Linked DNA regions of Homo sapiens: all the other regions are linked to region 3. The links are contacts of gene promoters, found by promoter capture Hi-C in blood cells and fetal thymus (Javierre and others, 2016). All regions are on one chromosome and are shown on one strand. The core of a region is centred on a gene start or on the middle of the fragment in contact, and the rest is flanking DNA. Distances in the headings are between cores, read along the strand shown. Region 1 overlaps UST (uronyl 2-sulfotransferase). Region 2 has its middle 25 kb from the start of UST. Region 3 holds the start of UST-AS1 (UST antisense RNA 1).

Evidence for each region. Contacts are between HindIII fragments. The CHiCAGO score rates a contact against its expected background, and 5 or more counts as called.
Region 1: a fragment that was not itself captured here is called in contact with the fragment with the promoter of UST-AS1 in region 3 in 1 of 17 cell types (naive B cells); the score reaches 5.3 in naive B cells.
Region 2: a contact is called between a fragment that was not itself captured here and the fragment with the promoter of UST-AS1 in region 3, in 8 of 17 cell types (total B cells, naive B cells, naive CD8 T cells and 5 more). The highest score is 13.8, in total B cells.

What each region holds. Positions count from the first base shown.
Region 1 is chr6:148,783,065-148,786,357 of GRCh38, reverse strand. The region is part of intron 1 of UST (uronyl 2-sulfotransferase); the gene reads right to left. Among named protein-coding and RNA genes, the nearest start is that of UST, 38 kb to the right of the region's middle. The HindIII fragment of the contact is 2,617 bases long and covers 689-3,293 here.
Region 2 is chr6:148,720,212-148,723,641 of GRCh38, reverse strand. No RefSeq gene overlaps it. Among named protein-coding and RNA genes, the nearest start is that of UST, 25 kb to the left of the region's middle. The HindIII fragment of the contact is 3,339 bases long and covers 1-3,324 here.
Region 3 is chr6:148,962,848-148,966,309 of GRCh38, reverse strand. UST-AS1 (UST antisense RNA 1) reads left to right here and starts at 1,626. Exons shown (of 3, transcript NR_038408.1): 1 at 1,626-1,749. UST (uronyl 2-sulfotransferase) reads right to left here. Exons shown (of 8, transcript NM_005715.3): 5 at 1,747-1,900. RefSeq lists enhancers at 1,585-2,161, 2,162-2,738. The HindIII fragment of the contact is 7,762 bases long and covers 1-3,462 here.

The DNA of each region.
Region 1 (3,293 bases), core at 748-3,247, 180 kb after region 3:
AGTGGATGCTGGGATTAATACCTGGGTGATGGGATGATCTGTGCAGTAAACCACCATGGGACATGTTTACCTGTGTAACGAACCTGCACATCCTGCACACGGACCCCTGAACTTAAAATAAAAGCTGGAAATTTAAAAAAAGAAATAATAGTATAAAAACCCTTTTATCTAAAGTAAAGTTAGTCTAAAAATTGAGAGTTGAAACTCTTTGAGGCAAATTTAATGAAAAGAGAATCATATACATCCTGTTAGGAAAAAAAAAAAAGATCTGTCATGGTAGCATTTTCATTAAGCAAAAATGTCTTAAGATTGAGTTCCAATTGCACTATATACTATTTAAAAAGCTAACATGATATTTTTGTCTGAACAGGGCAAAATAAAATAATTCTTGTTTTCTACCCCTCAAAATACCCATAAAAACAAATTCTATAATTCTACTTCTGTATATCCAATGATGGTTCCTCAATTCATACATTTTTTATAAGCAAGGGATCAATAATGAGTAAATGTATATTTTAAGGAACTACTTTTTTAACATACATGGTTTGGGGTATCAGTTAGAGTGTATTCTTTTCCTAAGCATTTTTTTCCTCAACATCTTATACTATTCAAGTGTTCAAGTGCTGCCCACAAAATATATAGAAATATCTTGAAATCTCATCCAAACGATTAGTTGTGTTAGTAAGCTTTGATGTTAAGAATACTTTATTGTAATTCTTTTTAACCAGAAAGACATGTACTATACTTCTATTATCCAGAATGTTCAAATAATCAGCATGCCATATTCTTCAACCACTCTGCACAAATGGTAGTTCGCTGGTCATTTTAATAGTATGTAATTTCAATAAAGGCAAATTAATATAGCACTTTAGTCTTTATAAAGCAATTTTCATTTGCATTGCCTCATTTAACCCTCACAACAACCTTTGAGGTAGGCATTATCATAGTCCTCATTTGTATATCTAAGTAGTCTCAAAGATATTATGCAGTTGTCCCCAAATCATCTAGCTATTGAGTAGTAAAATCAGGAATCAAATCTTGGGCTGAGATGCTTTTCTCCTCTTGATACATAACATGAAGTGTGACACAGACTATAAAAGATAATGGTCTATAGCATCTTAATGCCTAAATGCATGTATGCTTTTTTTTTTTTTTTTAAGATGGAGTCTTGCTCTGTCGCCCAGGCTGCAGTGCAGTGGCTCAGTCTCGGCTCACTGCAACCTCTGTCTCCCGGACTCAAGAAATTCTCCTGCCTCAACCTCCCTAGTAGCTGGGACTACAGGCACACGCCGCCAAGCCGGCGTGTATTTCAGTCGAGACAGGGTTTCACTGTGTTGCCCAGACTGGTTGCAACTCCTGAGCTCAGGCAATCCGGCTGCCTCAGCCTCCCAAAGTGCTGGGATTACAGGCACGAGCCACTGCGCCCGGCCACATATATGCTCTTCATTATCTGTTAAATATTCCATGGCCATGCTCTGCTCTTCCTGAGTCTGCTAAGTCTTCTATACTTCATGTCCACTGATAAGACATTTCAAAGTGCCTTGAAACAAAATGCAGCAACTTGCTTTTACCAGTCTATTGTTTCTACCTGACTTGAGGCAGAATGCTTGCCATTCACCAGGTATTCATCAATTCATTCAACAAATATTTACTGAGCTTTTATCATATCGCAGGCACTGTGCTTTCAGTTTTTCTAAGGGTGTCTGTGGACACATACACAAGATAAACAGCCAATATATGTACAATTTTCCACTTGTTCTTTCCAATTAATACTCTGATTGCCACCAAATCTAATACCTTCCAGCCAGCTTAGATACAGACAGAGGTATGATTTGCCTGATATAGCTTCCCTTTTGGGAGACAGTTCCTCGTGAATGGGTACACAGCTCACTCACTGGTGGAACTTGAGAGGATTTGAGATGGTGTGTTGGTTAGTAAATACTGCCTGGACTTATGTCGAGAGAATGTTATTTCCTTCAAAATTTTCATTCAATAATTCCGATTACATAAAAAGAGTGTCATCGTTTGGGGCTAGTGTTATGTTTAAACTCTTCATAACTTGATAATCTCTCTTTTTAGCAGAGAGAAAACTTCAGGCTCAGAAACTTAAGTGGGGAACTTTAGTTAAAATTTAATATATTTTTTCATAGCATTTATTTTTAGTGTTACCTTTTTCATAGTGAGTGAAATGTGGTTACATTTCCACATCGAATATGGATTACAGTTTCTTTCATAAATTATTCACATATAAAAGTCAGTCTTTATTTAAAATGATGAAGCGTATGAGGGTTGGGGTTTCGTGATATGCCGTAAATTACAGAGGTAGGACAGAAATCACTGACATTGGGGAAAACTCATAGGCAGAGAAAGCAGTGGATTGATCAGCAGCAGCCTATTTCTAGGCCGGGTTGTGTGACTTTGAAGATATCATTGAATCTTGTAGCTCATCATCTTCACCTGTAAAATGCGGGGTTGGATGAGATCTATAGTGCAACATTTTTCTGTCCCCAACCCCCTGGGGACAGAAAATTCCCACTGCACAGGGGAACCTTACTACTGCAAGGATGGCAGACTAGGAATTAGAAGGTTAGCAGGAAATGTGTAGTTATTTCAGGTTCCCCAGGCTTCCACTCCCAAGTGTTCACGTTAAGAACATGCTTAGGGGTTGAGAATCACCAGACAAGTTCATCTCTAAGGCCTCTTCCAATTCTAAAACCACAAGAAGCTCTGATTTTACATATAAATGTGCATGCACAGATATCAAGGACATTTGGTAGCTGTGAGAAGAAAATATGCCTATAATTTTTCCTAAGAAGGAAGAATTATTTAAAATAATGATACGTCTGCTTCTTCAGGGGAAAGGTGTACATGGGAAAAACTCCAGGAGAGAAATGCTTTTTGCTGGGTTGATTAAAACTTGAGCTCTGTTAGTCAATGAGAATATGACTTATCTGGCAAAACTATCAGATTACAGAAATGTTATTTGTGTATATGTGTGCCAGAGATATTGGAGGTTCAGTTCCAGACCACCAGAATAAAGCAAATATGACAATATAGTGAGTTTTTTAGTTATCCAAGGCATATAAAAGTTATGTTTATGTTACACTATAGTCTATTAAGTGTGCAATAATACACTTATATCTAAAAATAATGTATATACCTTAATATAAAAATTGTAAATGCTTAATTGCTAAAAATGCTTACAATCATCTGAGCCTTCAGTGAGTCATAATCTTTTTGCTGGAGGAGGGTCTTGTCTCGATGTTGGTGACTGCTAATGGATCAGGGTGATG
Region 2 (3,430 bases), core at 406-2,905, 240 kb after region 3:
TCACGCTCTGTGTAAGTTGAGGAGTGCTTTCAAAGGCACAGCCAATTACAAAGTCCCCTTTGACCTCACTTTTAACAAGCTCTCTGGGTTCTCCACATATGTGTAGTTTAGCAATCATTCAGAGATTTGTGGAGAGTTTTATTTCAGCCCTTCTATGGCTCTCACTTCCAATATCTCACATTTAAATTTCTAGCTGGTTGCCATCTTCCTTGAATTGAAATACTTGATACTGTCTGATAAAGCTACAAATTTTGTGCTCCTACCCCAAACTGAATCTGTCATCTCCACCTGGAAAAAACAGGTTTTCACTACCTGTTAACAACAACTCAACTACTACTGGATAATGGTCTTTACCACTTGAGCTGTGGAAGAGAAAGGATGAGAACCCTTTCAAGTAAGAAGCCCACAGTCTTGTCGGTCTTACTTCATGCAGTAGCAGTTTTTCATGAGTAGATTTTCCTTAATTTGCTGTCTGCCTTTGGTCATCTTCTAGTACCTTGTGATGGTTGTTTTGAATGATTTTGTCCAGTTTTTGTTGTTGTTGTTGTTGTTGTTGTTGTTGTTGTTTTTCACTAGTTTTCTGCTTGGAGACAGGAAAGAAATTTAACACAGACCTTGTCATCCTACCTAGGAACTTACAAGTATAACTACATAATTGCAGAACCTCAAACATTTTTAAAGAGCAATACTAAAAGTGATTTGGTTGTGAAGATCTTACAAACACGTAACCTACACGATGAACAACAACAGCAGCAAAAGTCTATCCTAATGTTTTGCAAACAGTGCCATTGATTATCTACAGGGAAGCCTTTCTCTCTACTTCTTCCTTTCTAACAGAATCAGAATGTGTTCACATATTGTAAGATGTATGTTGCATATGTTTCTTCCCAGTTTTAAGGGATGACTATTAATTAATCCTAATCAATCATGATTAATATCCATTTAGAATTATCATTATAAGTATGGTTTTATGATAAAACCCTGGCCAATGAAATAAGAGGAGAAATCTGCCAGGTGGCTTCTGGAAAGGTTTTTTTCTTTCTCATATAAAGGGACATAAGACAGAAATGCACTCACTGTCCTACTTTCAAAAGATTTTTGATGAAGATATAATAATTGAAGCTGCTCCAGGAGGACAAAGCCAAGGACTGGCTTGGTGATATGATAGGATTACTAACCATCCCAGTTTACCTGACACTGTACCAGTTTTAGCACTGAAAGTCCTCTGTCCCAAGAAATTTTTCAGCCCTGGAATAACCAGAAGAGTTGGTCCCCCTACATTGCTCTGCTACTGAATTGACCAACCAACACTGGTGTGACCCTACTATCAGACTTCTTAAAATATGAATAATTAGTTTGCTGTTCTTTAAGCTATCTCTAATTGAATAGGCTATGATGTACAGCGAAAAGTGTCCTATTATAGTACCCAAATATAAACAGCTTTAACCAATTCATCCTTGTATACCCATTCACAACAAGTTAAAATAAGTCTGCCCTAGGAACTTTTCTTTTCTTTTTTAAGAGGGAATGGAGAAGAAGATGGTGAGGAAGAAAAAGTGGGGAGACAGGCAGGTTGGGAGACAGGCAGGGAAGAAGATGGGCATGGGAAGAAGACAGATGGGAGAGGGAGTGGAGAAGAAGGCAGTGAGAGGGAAGAAGACAGGGAGAGAGAGCAGAGGGAGGGAGCTAAGGAGAGGGAGCAGGGAAGGAGACCTGGAGAGGGAGCAGGGAAGGACTACAGGAGAGGGGGCCTGCTCTAGGAACTTTTGATGCATACTAGAAATGTACGTCGTAATTGCAGTGGTGGCCAGTATCAGTTACCCATTGAGAGAAAATAAGCTGTGTGAAATCAAAGACCATATCCATCTTGCAAGGAGCTGTATTCCTCATCATCCCCAGTCCTCAGCCCATGGAGGTAACCAATAAATATTTGGTGAATGAATATTACTCATTACTTTTACTGAAAATTCTCAAGCTAATAGGAAAGTGGCCCCTGGTGCCAGTAGAGTGAATTAAACAGTGAAGTAAACTTTAAAATATTGATTTGTAGACAAATCTGGTAAATCTGGTATATCACAAATCAGAATGGGCCAGAGGATCTGAAATCTTGTTGAGGAAGGGTGAGTAACAGAGGGAAATCAGGAGAGTAACAGAGGGAAGCCGGCCTAGAGTCTGAGAGTTTGGGGGTGAGGAAAGAGGATATGGCTCATGAAAAACTCTAGATATTGATATAAAAGTGTACATTTAAATAGAGTTAAAGTTTGTGGGTAACTACAAGTCAGATAATGTATAATTTTAATTAACTATGGAATATTGCAATATGATCAGGAAGGGTAGACTTCAGTTTTAACTGAATGATGCAGATGGTGAATGGAGCTGCAGCAGGGGCAGCCACAGGTCCATGGGAAAAGGGCAAAGTGATCTCACAGTGAAGATTGGGAGCGGACAGCCAGTCCGGATGGCTGGCTGGAGACCCTGGCAATGGCTTGAGGGTGCAGCCAGCAGGAGCCAAGGTGAGGCTGAGTCAGCCAGGGGAGTGGTGCTGGGAGCAGGGTTGAGCCAAAGGGACAGATCATGAATTCAACAGCTACATACTTCAGCTTCAGGGATCAGCTGGGTGCCCAGCAAACTAGTGAACAGGGCACTGCCTCAGAGGCAATGACTAGAGGACACCATGCTTAAGACCCTGAGTTCCCTTTCTCTGCTCATATCCTTGCTTTATCTTATAGGAAAGGCAGGGGAGGGGAAGTCTATCTGAGAGGCAGAACTGTTTGATTTAATAGAGAGTCAACATAAAACACCAAACTGGACTAAACTTTAAACCAGATTGGACATTTCACTATTTTTTTACTGCTAGCCAGTGATTGGGAGCTTATGAGGAAGACTGTAATAGATATAGGCTAAGTAAAGAAGTCTTATTTTTTCCATACATGAATTGTTGTTAAGTTTTTTGGCCCTCCTCCCCCACATACATATTCCATGTGGACTGTAAGAGAAAAAGAAGGAGCGTGGCTTTCCAGGAAAGCTGGAGCTGGAGAGCAGAAGCACTGGAGCAAGAATGAAATCAACAGACTTCCTGGATTACTCAGAATGAATGTCTCTGAGGCCGCAGCAGTGGGAGTTTTGATCCCAGAAAACACTGGAGCAAATCTGAATCTGCTTTGGTGATTGAATCCAGGGCTGTTCGTCTGTGTTATTCTGCTTCCCTCTGCTCCTAACCTCTTCTCTTTACTATTTTTCATCATGAACAATTGGCTCTGTGTACATTTTCAATGAGTGTAGCCCACTGGTTGGGTAGGGAGTCAAGGGTTAGATAGCCAAGCTTCCCCTTTACCCTTGGGTCTCATTTCCCGCTCTGGTTGGAAATCCCAGAGTTCCAATGATAACTTGATTTGTACTAAGGCATCTGATGTTAATGGTAATTTCTTCT
Region 3 (3,462 bases), core at 377-2,876:
ACACGTCTCACCAAATAAAAAACATATAGTCATATTCATAACCTATAGTTTTTTATTTTATTTAATTATTATTATTATTATTTTTTGAGATGGAGTCTCGGTCTGGCACCTAGGCTGGAGTGCAGTAGCACGATCTTGGCTCACTGCAACCTCTGCCTCCCGGATTCAAAGGATTCTCCTGCCTCAGCCTCCCAATTCGCTGGGATCACAGGCATGCGCCACCATGCTCGGCTAATTTTTGTATTTTTAATAAAGACAGGTTTTCACCATGTTGGCCAGGCTGGTCTCGATCTCCTGGCCTCAAGTGATGCACCTGCCTCGGCCTCCCAAAGTGCTGGGATTACAGGCGTGAGCCACTGCGCCCGGCCTCATAACCTATAAAGAAATAGATTAGGGTTTCGCCATAAAAACTAAAAAAAAAAAAAAAAAAAAAGGGAAAAGCCACTTTTAAAATATATCATCAAAGGAAGAAAATAAAAATAAAAATAAAATCATCAAAATATTTCACTGAAGCCTTAGGTAGTTGATCAAATACCGAAGGTGAGTGGAAAGCCGTGGGTCTGGTGTAGTCGTCTGGCCCTGGCTGAGACACTAACTTCTCTGTATCTCAGTTTTCTCTACTCTAATCATGGATTTGAAAACATGAACGTGACACTGAGGGGACATCATCCCCAAATGCTCCCAGCCTCTGAACATCCACTTCCATTATGTTTTTAAAATGAGATGAGGAAGCAGCCGTCCTGGCCGTGGCCCTGAGATTCGGTGCTTTTCTCCAGCGGCAAGGCTGCTGCTGACGGCACATCAGCAGTGGCCTCAGCTCTGGGCGATCTTCCAGCTTTGGGAACAACACCTCTGACTGATCCTCAACACTTCCTACTTTCCTGCTTGTGCCCGACAACAGCCCAGGATGGGTCCGGGTGAACCCCAAGGGCTCTCTCAGACACAGAGACCAGGATTTCAGCCTCCTGGGCACCAGGCTGTCAGCTCCTCAGTACATGTTTCTCAACACAGGGATGGGAAATGTACCTTTCGTTCTAGTGCTGAAAGAAAGACGCGCAACTCCGCCCTCCGTTTTTGTTACCAACCTCTGTGCTGCGGAAATAATTACTGGGCTCGAGACTAACATCCCTTATGGAGCTGAGGGTCCCAAAACAAGTCCAGAGAAAGCAAACAATTACTGGTGCAATGACAGGGTTCTATCGCGCTGTGGTGGAAAGAACCCAGACTGTGAAGGCAGGAAACCCGAAACAGTCGGTCGCAGTTGCGCCCTTACCTGAGAGGTGACTGTGGCAAATCCCACAACCTTTAGAATCTCAGGGTCCTCATCTGAAAACACCTCCCCCTCCCAGAGTGGTCATGGGAACTGAATGGGCTGAGGGATGAGAAGGGGCTCTGCCGCCCTCTAACAGACACCCCCCCAACACCTTTGTTCTTCTTAAGCACTACAGTGCTAGTCAGGACTCCTTAGGAAAGACTGTTAACGCTCTGGGTCCCAAAACCTAGCACTAAAGACAACTGAGCAAAGCAAAATCAGAAAATAATTTGAGGAAATGTTCATTAGGATCTGGGTCACCCGGAACCAGTTTCTCTCGCCAAGACCTCCTTCCTGCGGAAGCACCCTCTCTGCGCCACGCTCCATGGAGGCGCCAAGGAGAAGGCCTGGGAAGGGAAGAGTGAACCTTCCCTGGTGGAGGGCCCACTCCTCAGGCAGTGGGGAGACCGCCTTTTGCATGCGACAGGACTTACCAGGTAGCGCTCCTCCTGCCTCATGCTGGGGGTGCGGATCATGTGATTTTGTTCCCCTCTCCAGTCTCCAAAGCGACGGAAAAAATAGTTGGATAAGAACCGGTTGACGGGGTCTCTAATGATGTTGATGTAGACAGGCTGGTCTCCTCCAAACCTAACACAAACATTGAGTTCGTTACAACCCATCACTGCAGGACGAAAACAGGGCCTACTTAGACAACATCTCCCCTTCCCTCTAGGTTAACTTATTGAAAGATGACCTCCTATGCTAAGGTGCCAATGACACGTAATAAGCAAACGGTGTTTCCTGATAAGCATTTTATTATCATGCAGGAAGTGGGGAGGATGATACCTGTTCCAGGTACCTGTTGAGGGGCTGTGAGGACATTTCATAGTATAGCACGGTACAAACCACACCATTGTGCATGTTAAGGAAGAGATGGTGTCTAGTTTTCTCACCAGGCTGTAGGTTTCTTGAGGATGGGGGCCACTCTGTATTGGATTTAGTATTTCCAATGGCTAGAACAGAACCCACAGGGACACAATTGGCCCTCGGTGAATGTTTCAGTTGATTGGTAGGTTCTGACTGCCTTGCTGGGTGAGACGGCACTTCCTCTATATTGTAATTCAAACAGTTCCGGGTCAGGTGCTCTGCAGTAAGGGAGTGAATAACAGCCAGTCTTCACTGAGCACTCGCTATTCACCTTGTTCTAAATACCTCATGTAACCAGCTTGCTGAAGCCCCATAACACGTCAATGGAGTAGAAAAAATAATTATCCTCATTTACACTTGGGGAAACTGAGGCAGGAATAAGGTTCATAACTTGTAGCTGAACTAGGATATGGGTCCAGGCAATCTGGCTCTAGAATCTATGCTCTTAATTATGGAAAAGTGATTTCTGGAGTTGAGGAAATTTTGTGTGGGATATCAAGAATGAAACAAAATTCAACATAATTATCCTCAAGTGATGGCAAGTGGCTTCAGATAAAAATAAAGCAAATAGCCAGGTGTTCCATTTTAATTCCTTCCATGAAAGGATTAGATGAATCCACTAAATCTTGGCCCAAGAACAAGGTCTTCCCGAAGCAGAGTGATGAGATTGGCTGGATTTCTCTTAATGATTCCTTCTTTTTCTCTTTGAACTGCTTGAAAGCAGTAGCCTTGAGGAGTTCGGGGAGAGTGCCCCAGTCTCTGGGCAGAGGGCATGCTCTGGTGACCTCCTGAGGGGCCTGCAGGGTTCTCTAGCCCTATGGCCTCGTGACCTTCTGAGGAATGTGCCTGGACATTCTGTCAGGGGTCAGAAAGAACTAAGAGAAAACAAACTGACAGGACCCCGCTCCTGCCTCTCCCCAGCTGGCAGACTCCATTCACCTTTCAAAACCCAGCCTGGAGTCACATCACATCCCTCAGCAATTAATGCCCAACCCAGGGTCCATGCCTCCCTCCTCTGTGCCCTGGGCCCTCTCTCTTGCACTGTGTGGAAATGTGTGCCTCTCCCATCAGACTGTGGGCCTCCTGCAGCCAGGAACGACACGCTCTAGCTCAGTGTGTGGCACACAGTAGGTGCTCAACAAATGATGACCAAATGAAGAAATGAACATCTGAGTGTGTGCCTCTCAGTTGTTAACGTTTCTTCCCATATCATGGGGCTCTGTTGTCAGAGGAAAGTAATAACAAGCCCCCATCCTTTTCTGTGTATGAATTCATATAATGTT